Regions from separate parts of the Homo sapiens genome. Here all the other regions are linked to region 3. Evidence: promoter capture Hi-C in human tissues and cell types (Jung and others, 2019). All regions are on one chromosome and are shown on one strand. The core of a region is centred on a gene start or on the middle of the fragment in contact, and the rest is flanking DNA. Distances in the headings are between cores, read along the strand shown. Region 1 overlaps GYS1 (glycogen synthase 1). Region 2 overlaps RUVBL2 (RuvB like AAA ATPase 2). Region 3 holds the start of HSD17B14 (hydroxysteroid 17-beta dehydrogenase 14).

What was found. Contacts are between HindIII fragments. The study calls those that stand out against the background at their distance.
Region 1: a fragment that was not itself captured here is called in contact with the fragment with the promoter of HSD17B14 in region 3 in 5 of the 25 tissues and cell types used here (bladder, dorsolateral prefrontal cortex, liver and 2 more).
Region 2: a fragment that was not itself captured here is called in contact with the fragment with the promoter of HSD17B14 in region 3 in 1 of the 25 tissues and cell types used here (psoas muscle).

Annotation. Positions count from the first base shown.
Region 1 is chr19:48,986,759-48,990,137 of GRCh38, forward strand. GYS1 (glycogen synthase 1) reads right to left here. Exons shown (of 16, transcript NM_002103.5): 3 at 436-627. Among named protein-coding and RNA genes, the nearest start is that of GYS1, 4.9 kb to the right of the region's middle. RefSeq lists a silencer at 1,694-1,876 and an enhancer at 3,007-3,379. The HindIII fragment of the contact is 7,422 bases long and covers 1-3,379 here.
Region 2 is chr19:49,006,756-49,010,016 of GRCh38, forward strand. RUVBL2 (RuvB like AAA ATPase 2) reads left to right here. Exons shown (of 15, transcript NM_006666.3): 5 at 263-392; 6 at 547-613; 7 at 3,021-3,127; 8 at 3,218-3,261. MIR6798 (microRNA 6798) reads left to right here and starts at 3,151; the gene lies at 3,151-3,217. RefSeq lists an enhancer at 2,685-3,186. The HindIII fragment of the contact is 7,286 bases long and covers 1-3,261 here.
Region 3 is chr19:48,835,099-48,838,149 of GRCh38, forward strand. It overlaps HSD17B14 (hydroxysteroid 17-beta dehydrogenase 14), which reads right to left and starts at 1,393. Exons shown (of 9, transcript NM_016246.3): 1 at 1,226-1,393; 2 at 707-745. The coding sequence starts at 1,313. It overlaps PLEKHA4 (pleckstrin homology domain containing A4), which reads right to left. Exons shown (of 20, transcript NM_020904.3): 19 at 2,919-3,031; 20 at 1,999-2,453. The coding sequence ends at 2,191. RefSeq lists a silencer at 2,301-2,370. The HindIII fragment of the contact is 14,395 bases long and covers 1-3,051 here.

The sequences.
Region 1 (3,379 bases), core at 714-3,213, 150 kb after region 3:
AGTGCTGGGATTACAGGCATGAGCCACCGTGCCCAGCCTGGAAACTAAGCTTCTTGAGCCTCTTAAAACCTAGAAGGGGGTCAAAACCAGGTCAGGCTGGGGATTCATGAGCATCCAGGGCAGCATCTGAGAGCTGAGTCCAGCAATATCACACTAGAGAACTACAACTCCTAGAATTCCTCGGGCAAGCCCGCCAGCCTCACTTTGAGGCTGATTCCAAGAATCCCTATGCTTGGAAGACTAGAGTAAATGAAGTTGGCATCGAGAGTAGAGCCTGGGCCCTTGGATGTTCATGTCCTCAAAGGCCAGAGCTAATCCTTGGATTAAAGGACCCTATGACTCCCAGAATGCCCAGGGAGAAGCCCATCCTCTGGCCCAGGGGCTGATGGTCATTGTAGTTTCAGGTATGGGTGGAATGTGTCAGACGGGGCCTACCTCACCCAGGAACCAGGTGGTCAGAAAGCCAAAGAGGACAGCGTCGTTGGCCTCGCGGTCGTACCACGGCACTCCGATGTTGCAGGTATCCCAGAGCTCTCCCTTCCAGCGCTCCAGGGCCCAAGCTGAGGCACCCACGTCCAGGAGCACCACCAGAGGGCCTCCCTCGATCAGCCAGCGCCCGAAATACACCTGGGATGGGGTTGGGGAGGCACCATAGGGAGGCTCTGGGCTTCAGCCTCATATCTTCACTCATCCGTGGTTCTCCCATTTGCAGGCAGATGTCTATAGACTTAAGCCTCAGCTCTCTTATCTTCTGTTTCCATATCTGCTGCTAATTTCTCACCTGCTGCCTTAGCCTTACTTCTCTATTTGCATGATTTATTCCTGCTACACATTTTTTCCATCTCTGTTGCAATATTTTCCGTGCCCCCTGCTTACTTTCTTTCTTTCTTTTTTTTGAGATGGAGTCTCACTCTGTGGCCCAGGCTGGAGTGCAGTGGTGCGATCTCAGCTCACTGCAACCTCTGTCTCCCGGGTTCAAGCAATTCTCCTGCCTCAGCCTCCCAAGTAGCTGGGATTACAGGCACCCGCTCCCACACCTGGCTAATTTTTTTTTTTTCTTGAGACGGAGTCTGGCTCTGTTGCCCAGGCTGGAGTGCCGTGGCATGATCTCGGCTCACTGCAACCTCTGCCTCCTGGGTTCACACCATTCTCCTGCCTCAGCCTCCCGAGTAGCTGGGACTACAGCGGCCCGCCACCACGCCCGGCTACTTTTTTTTGTATTTTCAGTAGAGACGAGGTTTCACTGTGTTAGCCAGGATGATCTCCATTTCCCGACCTTGTGATCCGCCCGCCTCGGCGTCCCAAAGTGCTGGGATTACAGGCGTGAGCCACCGCACCCAGCCTCCTGTTTAATTCCTGTAACTGCTACCCTTCTCCCACTCGCTGCCTCCTTTCTCTGCTTATAACCACATATGTCACATGTCCTGTGTCTATGCCCCCACTGCCCTGTCTGGCCACTCTGCAAATCATTTCCCCTACCTGCTGCCTTGTTTCTGTACTTGCTGCCACATTTCTCTTACCAACCATCTGCATCTCCCACTGTCTTTTCTTTCTGATGCTAATTCCTTCCACGGGATGCTTCTTTTTTGTTTTCAGACAGGGTCTCGCTCTGTTGCCCAGGCTGGAGTGCAGTGGTGTGAACATGGTTCACTATAGCCTCAACCTCCCTGGCTCAGTCAATCCTCCCACCTCACCTCCTACAGGCGTGGGCCACCATGCCAGGCTGATTTTTTAATTTTTTGTGGAGATGGGGTCTCACTATGTTGCCCAGGCTGATCGTGAACTCCTGCGTTCAAGCAGTTTTCTTGCTTAGCCTCCCAAAGTGTTGAGATTAGAAGTGTGAGCCACCTAAAGCAGGCCCTTTTTTATTTTCAGAGACGGGGTCTTGCTCTGTCCTCCAGCCTGGAAGGGAGTGGTGCAATTACGGTTCACTGAAGCTTCGATCTCCCAGGCTCAAGCAATCCTTCCACCGCAGCTTCCCACGTAGCTGGGACCACAGGCACAAGGTATCACATCCCGGCTAATTTTTAACTTTTTTGTAAGGACAGGGTTTCACCATGTTGCCCAGGCTGGTCTCAAACTCCTGGCCTCAGCCTACCAAAGTGCTGGGATTACAGGCGTGAGCTACTGCACCCAGCCTGTAATGATTCTCTTACTGTTCATGCTGCCACTTTTCTTCCCCATGATGCCTTGTTTCTGTTCCTTTCATCACATATCTGTCACCTGCGACCTCTTTCCTCTATCCATAGGCCCATTTTGTAGTCCACAGCCTCCTTCCTTCCTTCCTTGCTTCCTTCCTTCCTTCCTTCCCTCTCTCCCTCCTTCCCTCCCTCTCTCCTTTTTCTTTCTTTCTTCCATTTTTTTTTGTTTGTTTTTGTTTTTGACAGGGTCTCACTCCGGTCACCCAGGCTGGAGTGCAGTGGTGCAATCATGGCTCACTGGGCTGGGCGCGGTGGCTCACGCCTGTAATCCTAGCTCTTTGGGGGGCCGAGGCGGGCGGATTGCCTGAGCTCAGGAGTTTGAGACCAGCCTGGGCAACATGGTGAAACCCTGTCTCTACTAAAATACAAAAAATTAGCCGGGCGTGGCAGCATGTGCCTGAGGTCCCAGCTACTTGGGAGGCCGAGGCAGGAGAATTGCTTGAACGCGGGAGGCGGAGGTTGCAGTGAGTCGAGATTGTACCACTGCACTCCAGACTCAGCGACAGAGTGAGATTCTATCTGAAAAAAAAAAAAAAAAAATTATGGCTCACTACAGCCTCCACATCCCATCCTCCCACCTCAGCCTCCTGAGTAACTGGGATCACGAGCACGCACCATCATGCCTGGCTAATTTTTTGTATTTTTAGTAGAGACAGAGTTTCGCCATGTTGCCCAGGTGGGTCAGGAACTCCTGGGCTCAAGCTATCCTCTCACCTCGGCCTCCCAAAGTGCTGGGATTCCAGGCATGAGCCACCGCCCTCGGCCACGCCACACATTTCTAACATAGCCCATCCTCTGTCCGTGCCCCAGGGCTGCATTTTTCTAGCCACTGCCGTGTTTCTAAGACTTGCTGTCTCACTTCTGCCTCTGCCACATTTCTCCAGTTGGCTGTTTTCCTCCCTGAGACCATGGCTTTGGTTCTGGGCCTGCTGCCACAGCAGTGGAGAAGCAGCCCCGCTCCTCGCCGACCTGGCTTTTTGCTGCCTGGAGCCTCGCTCTGAGGTCCCTCCCCCTCCCAGCTGTTGTCTGCCCTTTTGCTGGGGGGGGGGGGGGGCTATTCTTAGGCCCCCAGCACGTGGGAAGCAGCTGCCCTCAGGAAGCGACTGGGCTGTTCTGGGTTCCCTTAGGGACACAGTCGGACCTGAATGGATTCCAGACCCCACCCCAAACCAGAGGCT
Region 2 (3,261 bases), core at 301-2,800, 170 kb after region 3:
CTGGGCAATGTGGGATTCTAAGCCAGGCCTGCCGGAGCAACCTGCCCTGCCTGGCTTCTCACTCACTGTCTGCCTCATGGCTGAACCCCGCTCTCCAGTTCCCCCTCCCCAGCGCTCTGCTCAGCTCGGAGCCAAGTCCTTACATGTAGGATGGCACTGAACCCTCTTTCCTGGGGTGGGAGAAAAGCTAGTTTGCCACAGAGCAGGTGTCGGGGACCTGGTGCCAGAGCGGCTTCACCTACACAGACTGCCTCCTTCCCAGGCATGGCGCAGGCCCTGGGCCCTGACACGCCATTCACAGCCATCGCCGGCAGTGAAATCTTCTCCCTGGAGATGAGCAAGACCGAGGCGCTGACGCAGGCCTTCCGGCGGTCCATCGGCGTTCGCATCAAGTAAGCGGGGGACCCGAGGCGGGTGCCAGACCCCAGAGCCTGGGAGCAACCCCGCACCCCGGGCGGCTCGTCCTTTGTCCCAGAGCTCATGGAAGGTTGTGATTCCCGAGGGTCCAGGTGTCAGGCTGTCTCCTCAGATCTGCTCTCTGGCTAGGGAGGAGACGGAGATCATCGAAGGGGAGGTGGTGGAGATCCAGATTGATCGACCAGCAACAGGGACGGTGAGTCTGTGTGAGTCTGTACCCTGCTGAGGCCACCTCCAGCGCCAGGGTTGGAGAGAGTAGATATCAGGTCTGCACTGAGGTCAGAATCCCATGGAATGTTCTAGCTGCAGACTAGAGCCATGTACATGCCTACAGTAGGAGGTCAGTTAACTTGACAATGGCTTATCCCCTTATGAAGGACATTATGGGCAATAGAAACTGAGGCGGTAAAATAATGAGAGAGATCTGTTAGTGAGTTCCCAACAGACCTCAAAACCCAACAGACTTCAAAACTCGTTCCGTGGCCGAAAGGCATGTCCTGTCCATCTTACATGATACAGGTGATTTGCTCTCTCTTTTTTTTTTGTTTTCGAGACAGAGTCTCCCTCTGTCCCCCAGACTGGAATGCAGTGGTGCAATCTCGGCTCACTGCAACCTCTGCCTCCCAGGTTCAAGTGATTCTTCTGCCTCAGCCTTCCGAGTAGCTGAGATTACAGGTGTGTGCATGCCACCACGCCCGGCTAATTTTTGTACTTTCAGTAGAGACGGGGTTTCACCATGTTGGCCAGGCTGGTCTTGAACTCCTGACCTCGTGATCTGCCCACCTTGGCCTCCCAAAGTGCTGGGATTACAGCCGTGAGCCACCATACCTGGCCTCTTTTTTTTTTTTTTTTTTTTTTTTTACAATTTCTGTTTTCTCCTTTTTGCATAGCTGTGTTTTCTGATTTTGTGATCAACAAAAACACTTTTTATTTGGGTATAAAATAGGAATGTCAAAGTGTGACATTTGGCAATTTTGCGAGACCTCGGGCCTATGTTGTTTTTGATAGACTTTATTTTTTAGGCATGTTGTTTGTTTACTATTTTTATTTTTTATTTTTATTTTATTTTATTATAATTTTTTTTTTGAGATGGAGTCTTGCTCTGTTGCCCAGGCTGGAGTGCAGTGGCACAATCTCAGCTCACGGCAAGCTCTGCCTCCCGGGTTCATGCCATTCTCCTGCCTCAGCCTCCCGAGTAGCTGGGACTACAGGCACCTGCCACCACGCCCGGCTAATTTTTTGTATTTTTAGTAGAGACGGGGTTTCACTGTGGTCTCGATCTCCTGACCTTGTGATCTGCCCGCCTCGGCCTCCCAAAGTGCTGGGATTACAGGTGTGAGCCACTGCACCCTGCCTGTTTACTATTTTTATTAAGAGCTTTATTGAGTTTTGGCCAGGCGCAGTGGCTCACACCTGTAATCCCAGCACTTTGGGAGGCTGAGGTGGGCGATCACTTGAGATCAGGAGTTCGAAACGAGCCTGACTAACATGGTGAAACCCTGTCTATACTAAAAATACAAAATGGCTGGGCGCGGTGGTTCATGCCTATAATCCCAGCACTTTGGGAGGCCGAGGCGGGTGGATCACCTGAAGTCAGGAGTTCAAGACCAGCCTGACCAACATGGTGAAACCCTGTCTCTACTAAAAATACAAAAAATTAGCTGGGCGTGGTGGTGGGTGCTTGTAATCCCAGCTACTTGGGAGGCTAAGGCAGGAGAATCGCTTGAATCTGGGAGGCAGAAGTTGCAGTAAGCCGAGATCACACCATTGCACTCCAGCCTGGGCAACAAGAGCGAAACTCCATCTCAAAAATAAATAAATAATAAAAACACAAAACAATTAGCTGGGTATGGTGGCACACATCTGTAATCCCAGCTACTTGGGAGGCTGAGGCAGGAGAACTACTTGAACCCGGGAGATGGAGGTTGGAGTGAGCTGAGATCACACCACTGCACTCCAGCCTGGGCGACAGAGCAAGACTCTATCTCAAAAAAAAAAAAAAAAAAAAAAAAAAAAAAAAAAAAGAGCTTTATTCACCAGGCGCAGTAGCTCACTCCTGTAATCCCAGCACTTTGGGAGGCCGAGGTGGGCAGATCACAAGGTCAGGAGATCGAGACCATCCTGGCTATCACAGTGAAACCCCATCTCTACTAAAAATACAAAAATTAGCCATGCGTGGTGGCGGGCGCCTGTAGTCCCAGCTACTCGGGAGGCTGAGGCAGGAGAATGGCGTGAACCCGGGAGGCAGAGCTTGCAGTGAGCCGAGATCATGCTACTACACTCCAGCGTGGGCGACAGAGCAAGACTCCGTCTCAAAAAAAAAAAGAACTTTATTGAGTTTTAATTGACATACAGAAAGCTGTACACATTGCAAGTGTCCAGTATGGTCCGTTGGGACATACATGTTCAGCCGCGGAGCCATCACCGCGTCAGGCTGGTGAGCGCACCGTATGTCTTCCCTGGAGAGCTTCCTTGTGTTGTGCCCATTTTGAAGCTGTGGAAGCAGAGGCCAGAGCAGAGCCAGAAGCTTATCAACACTGGGGGCACTGGGGCAACATCAGGGCCCTCTCTGAGCCCCATCCCTGGCTTGTCCCCACTCTCAGGGCTCCAAGGTGGGCAAACTGACCCTCAAGACCACAGAGATGGAGACCATCTACGACCTGGGCACCAAGATGATTGAGTCCCTGACCAAGGACAAGGTCCAGGCCGGGTGAGCAGTCAGGGGCCATGCCAGGCAGCCAGGGGGATGGGCGAGCTTGGGCCCATTCCTTTCCTTACCCTACCCCCCATCCCCCTGTAGGGACGTGATCACCATCGACAAGGCGACGGGCAAGATCTCCAAGC
Region 3 (3,051 bases), core at 143-2,642:
TGAGGGAGGAGGGGCTGGGGGCCTGGACTCCTGGGTCTGAGGGAGGAGGGGCTGAGGTCTGGACTCCTGGGTCCGAGGAAGTAGGGCCTGGGGGCCTGGACTCCTGGGTCTGAGGGAGGAGGTGCTGGGAGCCTGGACTCCTGGGTCTGAGGGAGGAGGGGCTGGGGGCCTGGACTCCTGGGTCTGAGGGAGGAGGGGATGGGGGCCTGGACTCCTGGGTCTGAGGGAGGAGGGGCTGGGAGCCTGGACTCCTGGGTCTGAGGGAGGAGGGGCTGAGGTCTGGACTCCTGGGTCTGAGAAAGTAGGGCCTGGGGGCCTGGACTCCTGGGTCTGAGGGAGGAGGTGCCAGAGCCTGGACTCCTGGGTCTGAGGGAAGAGGGGCTGGGAGCCTGGACCCCTGGGTCTGAAGGAGGAGGGGTTGGGGACTTGGATTCCTGGGTCTGAGGGAGGAGGTGCCGGAGCCTGGACTTCTGGGTCTGAGGGAGGAGGGGCTGGGGACCTGGACTCCTGGGTCTGAGGGCAGAGGGGCTGGGGGCCTGGACTCCTAGGTCTGAGGGAGGAGGGGCTGAGGTCTGGACTCCTGGGTCTGAGGAAGTAGGGCCTGGGGGCCTGGACTCCGGGGTCTGAGGGAGGAGGTGCTAGGGGTCTGGACCTCTGGGTCTGAGGGAGGAAGGGCCAAGGTGAGGGCTGAGGGACCGTCACTCACCATCCTTGTCGCAGATAACCACTCGGGCCCCGCTGTTCACTGAGAATAGGAAGGGAACAGGTTACTCTCCGAGCCTTGGTTAAAGCCTCTGCCGCCCTCTTGTGGCCACCTGGATTGGGGCTGATCTCCCTCTCCCCTCGTGACCCCAGTCTCATGATCACCCATAGGACAGAGGGCAGACGCCTTGACACATACTCTCCTTGCCTTGTTTCTGCTGAGGCTCCTGAACCCCCGTTCGTGGCTTCCGGAGCAAACTCCACGACTGACAGAGCCATTCCTCAAACCACTGGTTTTGTAGCTACACCAACAGACCCAGAGAAAGGGGCCACTGCCTTCGGAGACCCTGCCAGACTCAGCCCTAGCCTACAGCGCCACACGCTTACTTTAGCCTGCAAATTGGCTTTTATAATATCAGAATCCTGGCTGCAGTACTGGAGTCCCTATTTTCCGCCCCCATCACCCCGCCCCCATCCTTCCTTTCTCACACTCCACAGCTCCCAGCAGTCAGACCCGGCTCACCGAAGGCGCGCACGATCCCAGCTCCGATGCCGCGCCCGCCCCCGGTCACGACCACCACCTTCCCGGCATAGCGCGTTCCCGTAGCCATCCCGTGTACGTCGGTCTCTCTCTCTCTCTACTCTGGGCCTCTTTCACCTCCAAAGCCCCGTGAGGCCGTCGCATCAAATCCTCAATAGAGGCTGGATCCTGGAAGTCCGGCCTCGGGGGGCGTTGCCAGGAAGGCTAGAGACCTGGAAGTTTGTCCCCAGCCCCTCCTCCCTCAGACACTCCTCTCTTCCCACAGACCCAGGAATCCAGGAGCCCCAGTCCCTCCTCCCACAGACCCAGGAATCCAGAAGCCTCAGTCCCTCCTCCCTCAGACTCGGGAGTCCAGGCCCCCAGCCCCTCCTCCCTCAGACTCGGGAGTCCAGCCTCCCAGCCCCTCCTCCCTCAGACCCGGGAGTCCAGCCTCCCAGCCCCTCCTCCCTCAGACCCAGGAGTCAGGGTCCCAGCCCCTCCTCCCTCAGACCCGGGAGTCCAGCCTCCCAGTCCCTCCTCCCTCAGACCCAGGAGTCAGGGTCCCACCCCTTCCTCCCTCAGACCCGGGAATCCTGGCCCAGCCCCCTCCACTCTCAGACCGAGGGATCAGGTTCTCTATCCCTTCTTCCCAGAGACCTATAAGTCCAAGCCCCCTGTCCCTTCCTCTCTCAGGACCCAGGAGTCCACGACTCCAGCTCTGCCCCTCAGAGACACCAGTGCCACAACCCCAGACAGACAGAAAGAAAGCTATTGACTAAAAGTTCAAAGTTTTAATCCAAATTTAGACAGTGTTGAGAAAACCAAACTTTGGCCATAGAAACCATTCCCCTCCCGGGCCCGCAATGGGGACCAGACCACGCCCCCTGATGCCCTGAGTGGTCCCAGATCTCCGGCGGTACCTCCAGACCACGTCCTCGCGCTCCGATTGGCTGCCGCTTTTGGGCGGATTAGAAGCTGGATTGTAGCAGAGTGACTCGCAGAGGCCATGCCCCCTCGTCTTGTGGCAGGACCGGAGGGGCGATCCCGGCATCCCACGCGGGCCCCCAGGGGGTGGGACCTCCTCCACGCCCACTCCCTCGGCGAGAGAACCCCGTGGAACCCGAATTAGCCACCGGGGGAGATCTGGGGGGAGGGGTCTCCTGGCGCGTGGGGTCCGAAGGAGGCAGCGGCACACCGGGAAGAGGGTCTCCCTGGGAGTCCAAATTTCCACCTGGAGAGGATGAGTGGGACATGAGAATGGCAAACCTCAGCGCTAGGACCCCGGATTCCCAGCCCCTCCTCCCTCAGACCCAGGACTCCGGATTCCCAGCCCCTCCTCCATCAGACCCAGGAGTCCAGGCCCCCAGCCCCTCCTCCCTCAGACCCAGGAGTCCAGGCCCCCAGCCCCTCCTCCCTCAGATCCAGGAGTCTGGATACGCCAGTCCAGTCCTCTTTGAGACTCAGTTGTCGGCCCTCTCCCCGCCCCCTGACCTCTTCCTCCCCTCCTCCCAAGTGTCCCGGACCCCAGTCACCTCTTGCCTGAGACCTAAAACTCCCAAACCCTGCCCAACTCTTTACTCACCAAGATAAAAAATTCTCACCGGCCCCCAGACCCCTCCTCTCCAGGACCTGGGATTCCAGGTCTCCAGCTCTCTCCTCCCTAAAACCCAGAAGTCCAACATCCCCAGCCAGTCACCTGTCATCATTCTGTGCCACTGCGACGCCTCAGTAGCCAGGGCTTGGGAGAGGCTGAGAACCCGCTCCCGGTGACCTTCGGAAGTCGGCAAGTAAGGGGTGGTGTTCCTTGGACTAGAAAAAAAAAGAAGATT